Regions from separate parts of the Homo sapiens genome. Here region 2 is linked to region 1. Evidence: promoter capture Hi-C in 16 types of primary human blood cells and fetal thymus (Javierre and others, 2016). All regions are on one chromosome and are shown on one strand. Each heading gives the region's core, a stretch centred on a gene start or on the middle of the fragment in contact. The rest is flanking DNA. Distances are from core to core; before and after follow the strand shown.

Region 1 (3,212 bases), core at 6-2,505:
ATTTCTGTTGACCATAAGAGCTCTTTGCGGAAGAATTCCGACAGGCCTTTGAGGAATTGGTTTTGGAGGCGGCAGTCATCCCAAGACAAGAATTGGGCCAGGAACTGAAAAGCATCTGCATAGCTGCCGAGGGTACAGTGGCCCTGCTTGAGCTTGCGAATGGCCTTTTTAGCCACACGTGGGGGGATGGGGCCACAGAATTCCTTACGGATTTCATCCAGGAAGCGCGGGAAGTTGGCATGCAAGGGGCTTCCTTCCTGGGTGACCGAGATGGCCCAGTCCTTGGCTTCGCCAGTGAAAAAGGAGATCAGAAAGGCCACCCGCTCGGCGCCCCCGGGGAAATGAACCTCATGGTCGGCTATGAAGGTCTCTAGCTGCATCAGGAATTCAGCCAGGTAGACTGGGTCTCCTGAAAAGGGCTCTATCTCAGGCCGCTCCAGCGGTGCCAGAGGGGGTTGCGGGGGCGGTTCCTTTGACGCGGGCGGAGGCAGCGCCGGCGGGGGCGGGATGGGCAGCAGAGGGGGGTCAGCGGGCCCGTCGGGGGTGCTGCGATCCTGGATCACGTTAATCAAAAGATCATCCGAGATACAGTCGGGCTCCGCGCGTGGGGGAGGCCGGCACAAGAAGGGCAGTTCTCCCCCGGGAATGACTTCGATCTCACTGAGCGCGAACTCCAAGTTCTCCTCCGCAAGGACGGGCACTATGGGTACTGGCCAGCGGATGTAGCTGGAGACATTGCCCCGCAAGGAATTAACCTCGGCCAGGGCTCTCCCGAGCTGGAGGCCCAAATTGGCATTCTCCCCGCGAAGGGCATTTAATTCTTCGCGCAGGGCCACATTCGCCATGCGGAGGCTGTTGAGATTTCCTGACGCCTCAGACATCTCGACAAGCCCAGGGGCCCTGGGGCTCCGTGGTGGGGAAAGGGGAACTGGAACTACGGGCGGCCGGAGGAGGCCGAAATGCGGCGGCGGGGCTCGGGAGGGACCGAAGTGCGGCAGCGGGGCACGGGCCAGGCCGGGCCACACCCACCGGGGCGAGCTCGGAGGGCGGCGCTCTGGGCGGAGGGCCCGGCGGCTCGGCCCAGGGCGCGTTACCTCGTCGCCGGGGCCGGAGAGGGCGGGCGGAGGCACGGGGCCCGGAGGCGCCAGGCGGAGGATGCGGGCGACACGGTGGCGGCGGCGACCGCGCGACCGGGCGGGCGGGCGGGCAGGGGCGAGCGGAGCGGGAGGGAGCGGACTGCGGCAGGATCTGTCGAGGAAAAATCTTGCGGCCGGCGATTCCCCGCCTTTTAAGCGCAGCCTCGCACTCCCCCCACCCCACGCAGGGGCGGGCCTTGGGGAACCGCGGGCGCCCACTGGCCGCCGCGCGCCGCTCCCCTCCAGCTCGCCTGCGCCTCTCACTGACTCTCTCCTTCCCTAGCTGCAGCTAACTCGGGTCGGGAAAATGCGACAGCGACTGCCCACTCGAGGTCGTCATGGCGACAGCCAGTGAACGTGTTCCTCTCCTCGGGCAGGCCCCCGAGTGTAGAGGAGCTGCTTCGGGAGGCGCAGCTCAATCTCCAGAGCCTGTTGCAAGGTACCGAGAGGGAGGGGGGCTGCGGCCGGAGCCCAGAAGCGAGATGCGCAGCGGCAGGAGGGAGGCAAAGAAGAAAGAGGACAGGGACCAGCAAGATAAAGACAGAGAGTTTAAAAACAATCGACAAAGCAGTTTCCAGCTTTCACCTTTCAGCCTAATGATTCTGAAAGAGGCTATTTCCAGGGCTGTTTCCCCCCATCCCCAGCCCCTTTTTTCAGCTCAGTAGCCCATGGGGAAACAAGGACAGAGACTGAGGCAGGGCCATAAGTTATGCCATTCACCGAGAGCTGGGTGGGAGACTCCCACAATGTGGGCCTACATTCCCTCCAGCCCCCCTCTTGCCACATCGCCCATGCCTTTGGGATCCTGGCACCAGAAGACAAAGGGGGCATCTGCAGGATCTCCCACTCTGGGCTTCACTCACTCTGCTCTTGCAATAACCCCTGGATAGCTACTGCCTCACCAAAGTAAGCCCAATACACAGCACCCAGAGGTCACCTATTTTGTCCCCCCTAACCAAGCCTGAGCTTCTCGATGTAAAGAATCACATCTTGCTACCCTTAGGTTTCCAGAAGCACCTGGCACAAGGCTGGATTCCCTCCCCACCTGCCAAGAGGTGCTCAGTGGATGTTGAGCATGAAAAGAGGTCTTGTCAGCACTCCTTTATCTATACTAATAAAGGTTAACTCTAATGGCGAATAGAAAACTGCTGATGGGCCACCAACAGGATGACAGCCATAACCCCCACCCCCTACCAGGGCAGTGGTGACCTTGGAAAAGCAAGATGCCAAGGGACACCATGAGCCTTGTGTTCAGATAACAAAGGACTTGCCACACAGAAAAAGAGTCGATGTGCTCTGTGTTGCTACCATGGCAGAATTAGGACCAGTGGGTGGAAACCCAGAAGGAGGCACATTCCACCTCCAGATAAGGAAGAACTTTCTGACACACCTGACAGCCCCAACTGTCCGTGGAAGAAATGAGCTGCCTTGGGAGGGAGGGAGCTCCCCTTCCCTGCAGGTGTGTGCGCTGAGGCTGAAGAAACACCTAGAAGGGCTGCTGAGGAGGGAGTCTGGGCACAGAATGAGGCGTTGGACCAAAGAACCCCAAGAGCAACCCCAAATCTCTGTGATTCTGAGTCTTTGTTCAGTGTACATACAGCATGAATGTCCCTTCTCTACTCTCACTTTCTTCATGTATTCTCATCAAATTCATCACTTCAATCAACCCTATTCAAATCTTGTGCATCCTTACTCACTGATGATGCCGCTGAACTTCTGCCTCTTTTATGCTGTTACCTCCTCCTTCCCTCTCCTTCACCTTAGCCCTCCTAGACCTGACATCACTTACAGCGGGACTAAGGTGCAGGGAACACGGCCCACAAAGGCTCAAGTAAAAGTTCTTGACATCCAAGAAAGAACTCCAGATTGGACTTCCTGGTGTAAATCTCTTCTTGCTTCACACAGGTCATTTCCTTGGTAGGGTCGCAGAAAACCTTAAGAGCTGCAGGGCTTCAAAGAGAGGAACTTGCAGTCCAAAGTAGCAAAAGGTGTCTGCATTCTGAGCCTCTTTTCGTAACTGAGCACTCAAGGTGGGGATCATTGAGATAAGGGCTTGGTCCCCAAACCACCACAGCA
Region 2 (7,600 bases), core at 2,915-5,414, 110 kb after region 1:
CACAAAAAGATAAAATTTATGTTATGTGTACTTTACCACAATTTAAGAAAAAATTTAAATTCTCATCCCAACATTACCACGCCCCCCACCCTTAGCCAACTGGTGAATGTTTACTCATTTTTCAACGCCTAGCTCAAATGTCTCCTCTTGCCACGCCATCCCTTAGCTGACCACCCTTGTAGTTGGCCATTCCCTCTTTTATGCCAACACTGTGCCCTGCACGTACATTATACCTCTTACAGCACTTATCAAACCTAGTAATTATTGCTTTACAGATCCGTTTCCACTACTAGATTACAAACAATTTGGGGGCGGGGACCTTGTTTTACTCATCTCTGTATCCCCTAGACTTAGGGCTTGATAAGCTGAAAAGAATCAAGAAGGGCTTGATTAATTAAGGCTCCTCTGGCTTTTAAGGAGACCATACTGGAGGGTCATTTGCCCAAAAGAAGAGGCATCGGGGTCTCCTCAGGTTTTAGAAATCTGGTCAAACATCCAGAGCTGACTCCCACACCCTACTGCGAGAAGAGCGCGAGCGCGCGTCTCAAAAGGCTCCGCCTCAACAGTTCGGGTCCCCAGGAGGATCCGGGGGCCACCCCACCTCCACCCTGGGCCAGGTCGGTTAGCTAGACCCGCCCAGCGGTCCAGACATACCTTAGGTAATGAGCAGCCTGCTCTGGGCTCAAGGCCTCGGCTTCCGGAAACCTTCGGGATGCCTCCATGACCCTCGGATTGGGTTCCAGTTACCCCGGCGGGAGTTTGGAGCTTGGAGCTTGGAGCTTGGAGCTTGGAGCTTAGAGTTTGGAGCTTGAATTTCGCTCACTCCCGCCCCGCGCATGCTCTGTGCGCCGTGGAGAGGGACACAGCCAACCGACGGCCTCGCGGCCGGCCAATCCGCGACCACGCGCTGCGACGCCTCCGCCTGAGCCCCGCCCATGACGGTGGGCGCCTGCGCCTACGCGCGCCGGGAAGCAGAAGGTGATCTCTGCCTTCGAGACACGGAGTGTGCTGCCTCAGTCTGTGATCCCTCGCGTTTCAATCCAATTCAAACCATGCTGCAGCCAATTCGTTCGCGCGTGCGTGTGCCATCATTGTGAGTGGAGGAGACTGCCCGATATGATCCCAGTCATTGCGGCGACCCCTGGAGATCTCCAACGCCTGCGTCCCCCAACCATACCCTGCCCCGCATCCACAGATATCTTCCCTTCCTTGATCGCCAGTACCTGGCACTGACCGTGCTTTGAATTCAAACACCCTGGGAGGCATAGTCCCTGTGATTTAAACTAACATTGAAGAAGCGACCAGACGCGGTGGTTCACGCCTGTAATCCCAGCACTTTGGGAGACCGGGGCGGGCGGATCACGTGAGGTCAGGAGTTCGAGACCAACCTGGCTAAAATGGTGACACCCCGTCTCTACTAAAAATACAAAAAATTAGCCGGGCGTGGTGGCGGGCGCCCGCAGTCCCAGCTACTCGGGTGGCTGAGGCACGAGAATCGCTTGGACCCAGGAGGTGGAGGTTGCAGTGAGCCGGGATTGCACCACTGCACTCCAGCCTGGGTGGCAAAGCGAGACTCCATCTCAAAAAAAAAAAAAAAAAAAAAAAAGGCTGGGTGCAGTGCCTCACGCCTGTTATCCTAGCCTTTTGGGAGGCTAAGGTGGGAGGATCACTTGCACTTAGGAGTTCGAGACCAGCCTGGGCAACATGGTGAGACTCCCGTCTCTTTAAAAAAAATTTTTTTCTTCTCCACAGGGCGTTATGCTGTATTTATTTTCTTAAAAAGAGAGAGAGAAAGAGAGAAGGGTCTTCAAGAATCTCAAACCCTGGAGGTGGAGGCTGCAGTGAGCCAAGATCATGCCACTGCACTCCAGCCTGGGTGACAGAGAAAGACTCCATCTCAAAAAAAAAAAAAAAATTAAAGTTCTTATTTAAGAAATAAGTAACTAGGTTCACATACTTGGTATAATAAAAGGAAGACAAAAATAATTTAAAAAAAAAGAAGTAGTGCTGTGGTCATCATTTCTTCAGAAGCACCAACTAAGATACAGTCATTTTCAAATGCAGAGCCTAAAAAGAAGGCAGAGCCTAGAGCTTAAGGAAATGTGATTGAGTTTAAGTGGCTTGCTTGGGTGACACTAAATAGGAGGTTGTGGGCCAACAAAAATTGTCCTTGTTCATATACTGTTAAGAACACAGACATGACTCCTCAAGACACTAATTTAGCATTCAGTATTGGAAAACTCACCTATTGGCCCAGTCATACATCATATGTCCAGAGAATTTTAAGCTTTTCATAAAATTTATAGACCGTTATGAGTTAAAAGGAATGTTGGAGGCCGGGTTCAGTGGCTCACTGAACCTGTAATCCCAGCACTTTGGGAGGCCGAGGCGGGCGGATCACCTGAGGTCAGGAGTTCAAGACCAGCCTGGCCAAATGGTGAAACCCCCGTCTCTACAAAAATTAGCTGGGCATGGTGGCGGGTGCCTGTAATCCCAGCTTCTCGGGAGGCTGGGGTGGAAGAATCGCTTGAACCCAGGAGGCAGACGTTGCAGTGAGCTGAGATCGTGCCATTGCACTCCAGCCTGGGCGACAGAGCAAGACTCCATCTCAAAAAAAAGAAAAGGGTTGGGGGGAGGTGGGGGATCTTGGAGAACATGGGCTATTTTCCTGGTTTGTATGACTTTAAGGCCTTTATTAAGAGGCCTTTTAGTATACTATTATCCACATTTTTCAGATGTGGAAACAGGCTCAGAGAGATAAATTGACTTCATCTAAGCTTCCTGAGCTAGGAAGCAGCAGAGCCAGAATTCAATACTAGGTCCATATGGACACAAATCTGTGCCGTTTCGCTGTGTCACACTGGAAAGAAGAGGGCAGTGGCGGGAAATGAGGTTGATGAGGCAGTTGAAGGCCAGGTTATGAAGGAACTTGTTTACTCTGCTAAAGTGTTTGAATCACATCTTTTCCTGGAGGCAAGCTTGGATTGGGCTGTGCTATGGTCTGAATGTCCTTCAAAATTCTTGTGTTGAAACTTAATCCCCACCATGGTGGCATTGAGAGGCGGGGCCTTTTAGCAAGTAATGTCATGAGGGATCCTACTTCATGAATAAATTAGTGCCTTATGAAAGGGCTGGAGGGAGCTAGTTTAGGCCCTTTTTGCTCTTCTGCTTTCCTACCATGTAAGGACACACTATTCCTTCCCCTCCAGAGGATGCAGCAACAAGGCACCATCTTGGAAGCAGAGAGCAGCCCTCACCAGATACCAATCCTGCTGGCACCTTCATCTTGGACTCTTCAGCCTCCAGAACCATAATAAATACATTTCTATTGTTTATAAATTATGAGTTTGATGGCCAGGTGAGGAGGCTCACGCCTGTAATCCCGCCCTTTGGGAGGCTGAGGCGGGCAGATCATCTGAGGTCGGGAGTTCGAGACCAGCCTGACGGAGAAACCCTGTCTCTACTAAAAATGCAAAATTAGCCGGGCATGGTGGCACATGCCTGTAATCCCAGCTACTTGGGAGGCTGAGGCAGGAGAATCACTTGAACCTGGGAGGCGGAGGTTGTGGTGAGCCAAGATCACGCCATTGGCACTCCAGCCTGGGCAACAAGAGCGAAACTCCGTCTCAAAAAAAAAAAATATGAGTTTGAGTCTATGGCATTTTATTATAGCAGCACAAAGGAGCTAAGGATGAGTTGAGAGTCCAGGCGCCCTGGATACCCAAAGGATGAGTAGGATGAGAAGAGCAGAATAGGGGAGAAGATGTAGGAGAGAATTCTGCAGAAAGGAAAAGAGAGATGAGAGCACAAAAATCTTCATCTTGAGTCTGGGGAAGGCCATGTCTGGTTGTGCTTTGGCTCAGGGTCCACCATCATCGCTCATATCCGGGGAATTGTTGAGAACTGAAGATGAAGCAAAGCAGGCCCCTGGTGGTTGTTGTAGGCATGCCCCATTGTGGGCTGTGAAGAAAAGCTAAAGAGAACTCCCTCAGGAACCCCGGCTACCTCCTCTCTGCTTCCCAGCTGGCAGTGATGCCTAAAGGCCCTGATCACCGGGAAGGAAGGACCAACACTCGGCTTGCCTGCCCTTTGGCTATTGGATTTTCTAAGCCCCATTTTCACACAGCTGTAGGGCTCCTCCTTTAAACTCCCCAGCTCTGGCTGCTCCTCCCCTCCCCTTCGGTCCTGTAGTCTGCTTCCCTTGGGCCCTTCTTGGTGCCTTCTGGAGTCCCAGGTCTCAACCCAGGGCTCTGATGACCCAGGAAACTCCCCAGCCCAGGCTCCTAGTCCTCCTTTATAAATGGTCACCCAGGCTCACAGCCTGAAAATAAGAGAGAGATTGGGAGGATTTTGAGTGGGTAAATGGAGAGAATCAAAGAGAGTCAAAATAATAGTTACTACTATATCCCTCTTATGTGACAGGCCCCATTCAAAACACTTTACATCGATTAATTATCTGCTGTTCCTCATTATGCATCTACCCCAATCAAGGGCTCCCATTCCCCCAGCGTCTCTCAAGGGAATGGGGTTTATAAAGCTCTCCCAGCTGGGCTCAGTGGCTCACGCCTGTAATCCCAGCACTTGGGGAGGCCGAGGCGGGCGGATCACAAGGTCAGGAGTTCGAGACCAGCCTGACCAACATGGTGAAACCCCGTTTCTACTAAAAATACAAAAATTAGCGGGTGTGATGGCACGTACCTGTAATCCCAGCTACTTGGGAGGCTGAGGCAGGAGAATTGCTTGAACCCAGGAGGCGGAGGTTGCAGTGAGCCAAGATCTCACTACTGCACTCCAGTCTGGGCGACAGAGGGTGACTCCATCTCAAAAAGAAAAGAAAAGAAAAGGAAAAAGCTCTTCCTAGGCTGGGTGCGGTGGCTTACATCTGTAATGCCAGCACTTTGGGAGGTCGAGGTGGGTGGAGTTCAAGACCAGCCTGGCCAACATGGTGAAACCCCATCTCTACTAAAATACAAAAATTAGCCGGCCATGATGGTAGGTGCCTGTAATCTCAGCTACTCGAGAGGCTGAGGCAGGAGAATGGCTTGAAGCCAGGAGGCGGAGGTTGCAGTGAGCCAAGATCATGCCATTGCACTCCAGCCTCTACAAGAGCAAAATTCTGTCTCAGAAAAAAATAAACAAAAAAAGCTCTCCCTAATTATTGTTAATTTTAAAAGGGTGATAATGGTATTGCTGTTTTTTTTTTTAAGGTCCTCATCTGTTAGAAATACAAGTTGGAGTATTTTCAGACAAAATGATATGACATCTGGGACTTACATTAAAATACTCCAGTACAGAGGGAAAAAAAAGGAGAGTACAGATGAACAAAGATTGGCAAAATGTTGATAATTGTTGAAGCTTGTTACAGAGGTTCATTATCCTCTTCTCTGCTTCTGTGTATGATTGAACATTTCCATAATAAGAATTTTAAAAAACAAAACTTTTCAACCTAATCTTCAAATTACACTGAGTCATCCGCACTCACAGGCCGGAAATATGATAATGAGGCTTTGTGGGAGGGTTCAGAATGCATAAATGGAGAGATGGATGAGGCCGAATAAGAACAATAGCTATTACTTAGATAGCACTGAAGTGCCAGGCCTTGTTCTAAGGACTTTACATGCACTGTCTTTTAATCCTTAACAACAACCTTGTTAGATGGTGTATACTATTATCATCCTCCTTTTACAGATGAGGAAACTGAGGCACAGAAAGATTGAATAACTTACACAAGTTTACACAGCTTGTGAATGGTGAAGCAGAATTCCAAACCCAGGCAGTCTGGCTTTCGACTTTTTGCTCTTTAACATGATGCTAGTTAGATATAGAAAGCAGCTGACAGGTGAAGAAAAGGATTAATTCATCCATTTACTTATTCATTTATTTAGTAAATATGTGTTGAGCCTTTACAAGATGGTCACGTAAGGATCCAGGTGCTGGGGGTAGAGTGGTGAGAAAAACAGACAAGTCCTTGCTATCAAAGAGCTTAAAGTTCCATGGTGAAGATGGACTTGAAACAATAATCACACAAACACTTGGAAAATTACAGACATGAAGAGGTCTCAGAAGGAAAACTACAGGCAATTATGACAGCATACCATGAGGTATCTGACCCAATCTGGAGGGCTGGAAAAGGTTTCTCTGAGGAAGTAGCATTTGATCTAAGAGCTGAAGGGTAGGGAGGAGTTAACCAAACAAAAAGGGAAGGGAAGGGCATTTCAGGCAGAGGGAATAGCATGATCAAAGGCCCTGAGGCAGGAGAGGGCTTGATGTGTATGAAAACTAAACAGGCTAAGATGGTTGGAGCAAGCCTAGAATGCTGAGTTGAAACGGTTTTTTGGACTCCAGTCTAATGCCACAGGTAAGGGAACTGCCAATGGGAAAGAAGGAAGTGACCAGTCCAAGGTCAGACCCTGAACCTGTGACAGAAACAGTACTCAAACCTAGGTACCTTCAATCCCAACCCAGCGTTTTTTCCAGCACACATCATGGCTTCCCTGCATATGAGGAGGGAGTGCCAGCAAAATGTTGCTCTTGGGGACTGAGAATGGAAGAGTGTTTTTGATAACCAAATGAAGTATTCATGCACAAGGAGATCAAAAGTGGGTTTGGGGCCAAGTGTGGTGGCTCACACCTGTAATGCCAGCACTTTGGGAGGCCGAGGTGGGAGGATCACTTGAGCCCAGGAGTTTGAGACCAGCCTGGGCAACATGATTCATCAGACAAAAAACACAAAAATTAGCTGTGTGTGGTGGTGTGTGCTGTAGTCCTAGCTACTTGGGAGGCTGAGATGGGAGAATCTTTTGAGCCCAGGAGTTCGAGGCTGCAGTAAGCAGAGTCACACCACTGTACTCCAGCCCGAGTGACAGAGTGAGATCCTGTCAAAAAAAAAAAAAAAAAAAAAAAAAAAAAAAGGAGCCGAGAGTGGGTTTGGGGCAGGAAAAAAGATGAAATTGATTAGAAACAGTAATAATGTATTTATGAGACAGGGTCTCACTCTGTTGCCCAGGCTGGAGTGCAGTGGTGTGATCTCGGCTCACTGTAACCTCAGACTCCTGAGCTCAAGTGATCCTCCAGGCTCCAGCGATTCTCCAACCTCAGCCTCTTTAGCAGCTAGGACTACAGACATGTGCCACCACATCCACCTAATTTTTTTAATACTTTGTAGAGACAGAGTCTTGCTATGTTGCCCAGGCTGTTCTCCAGCTCCTGGGCTCAAGCGATCCTCCCGCCTCAGCCTCTCAAAGTGCTAGGATTACAGGTGTGAGCCACCAAGCTCTGCCAACAGTAAGAATTTGTGTTTCCCAGATACCTAATTAGGCTTCTCCCACCCCATTTCTAGCTAGGGTTCTTATAAAGTAGGTGGGATTTGGGGGTAGGGGATAGAAGATTGAGACTGAGGGTTTAATCTCCCAGGGGAAGCAGGAAGGAGGAGGAAAGCCATGGGATGGAGGCTGCCCCAGCCAACAGTCATCTCCAGCTCTGCCAGCAGAGGGAGCCAGAAACTGAATTTCCTAAGAATGGCAGCTGGCCTGGCCCCTGGGATGGATAAACCCTTCTTGGAAACTAATCAAGTCAGCCCAGGATGCTGTGGAAATGACAG

Evidence for each region. The method cuts DNA at HindIII sites, captures the fragments that hold promoters and counts their contacts. A CHiCAGO score of 5 or more calls a contact.
Region 2: a fragment that was not itself captured here is called in contact with the fragment with the promoter of RTL5 in region 1 in 1 of 17 cell types (neutrophils); the score reaches 5.9 in neutrophils.

What each region holds. Positions count from the first base shown.
Region 1 is chrX:72,130,660-72,133,871 of GRCh38, forward strand. RTL5 (retrotransposon Gag like 5) reads right to left here and starts at 1,256. Exons shown (of 1, transcript NM_001405151.1): 1 at 1-1,256. The coding sequence starts at 881. NHSL2 (NHS like 2) reads left to right here. Exons shown (of 8, transcript NM_001013627.3): 2 at 1,420-1,575. RefSeq lists silencers at 1,047-1,116, 1,277-1,336. The HindIII fragment of the contact is 11,603 bases long and covers 1-3,212 here.
Region 2 is chrX:72,238,190-72,245,789 of GRCh38, forward strand. It overlaps ERCC6L (ERCC excision repair 6 like, spindle assembly checkpoint helicase), which reads right to left and starts at 838. Exons shown (of 2, transcript NM_017669.4): 1 at 655-838. The coding sequence starts at 722. It also overlaps a transcript of PIN4 not described here. RefSeq lists an enhancer at 620-769. The HindIII fragment of the contact is 2,377 bases long and covers 2,977-5,353 here.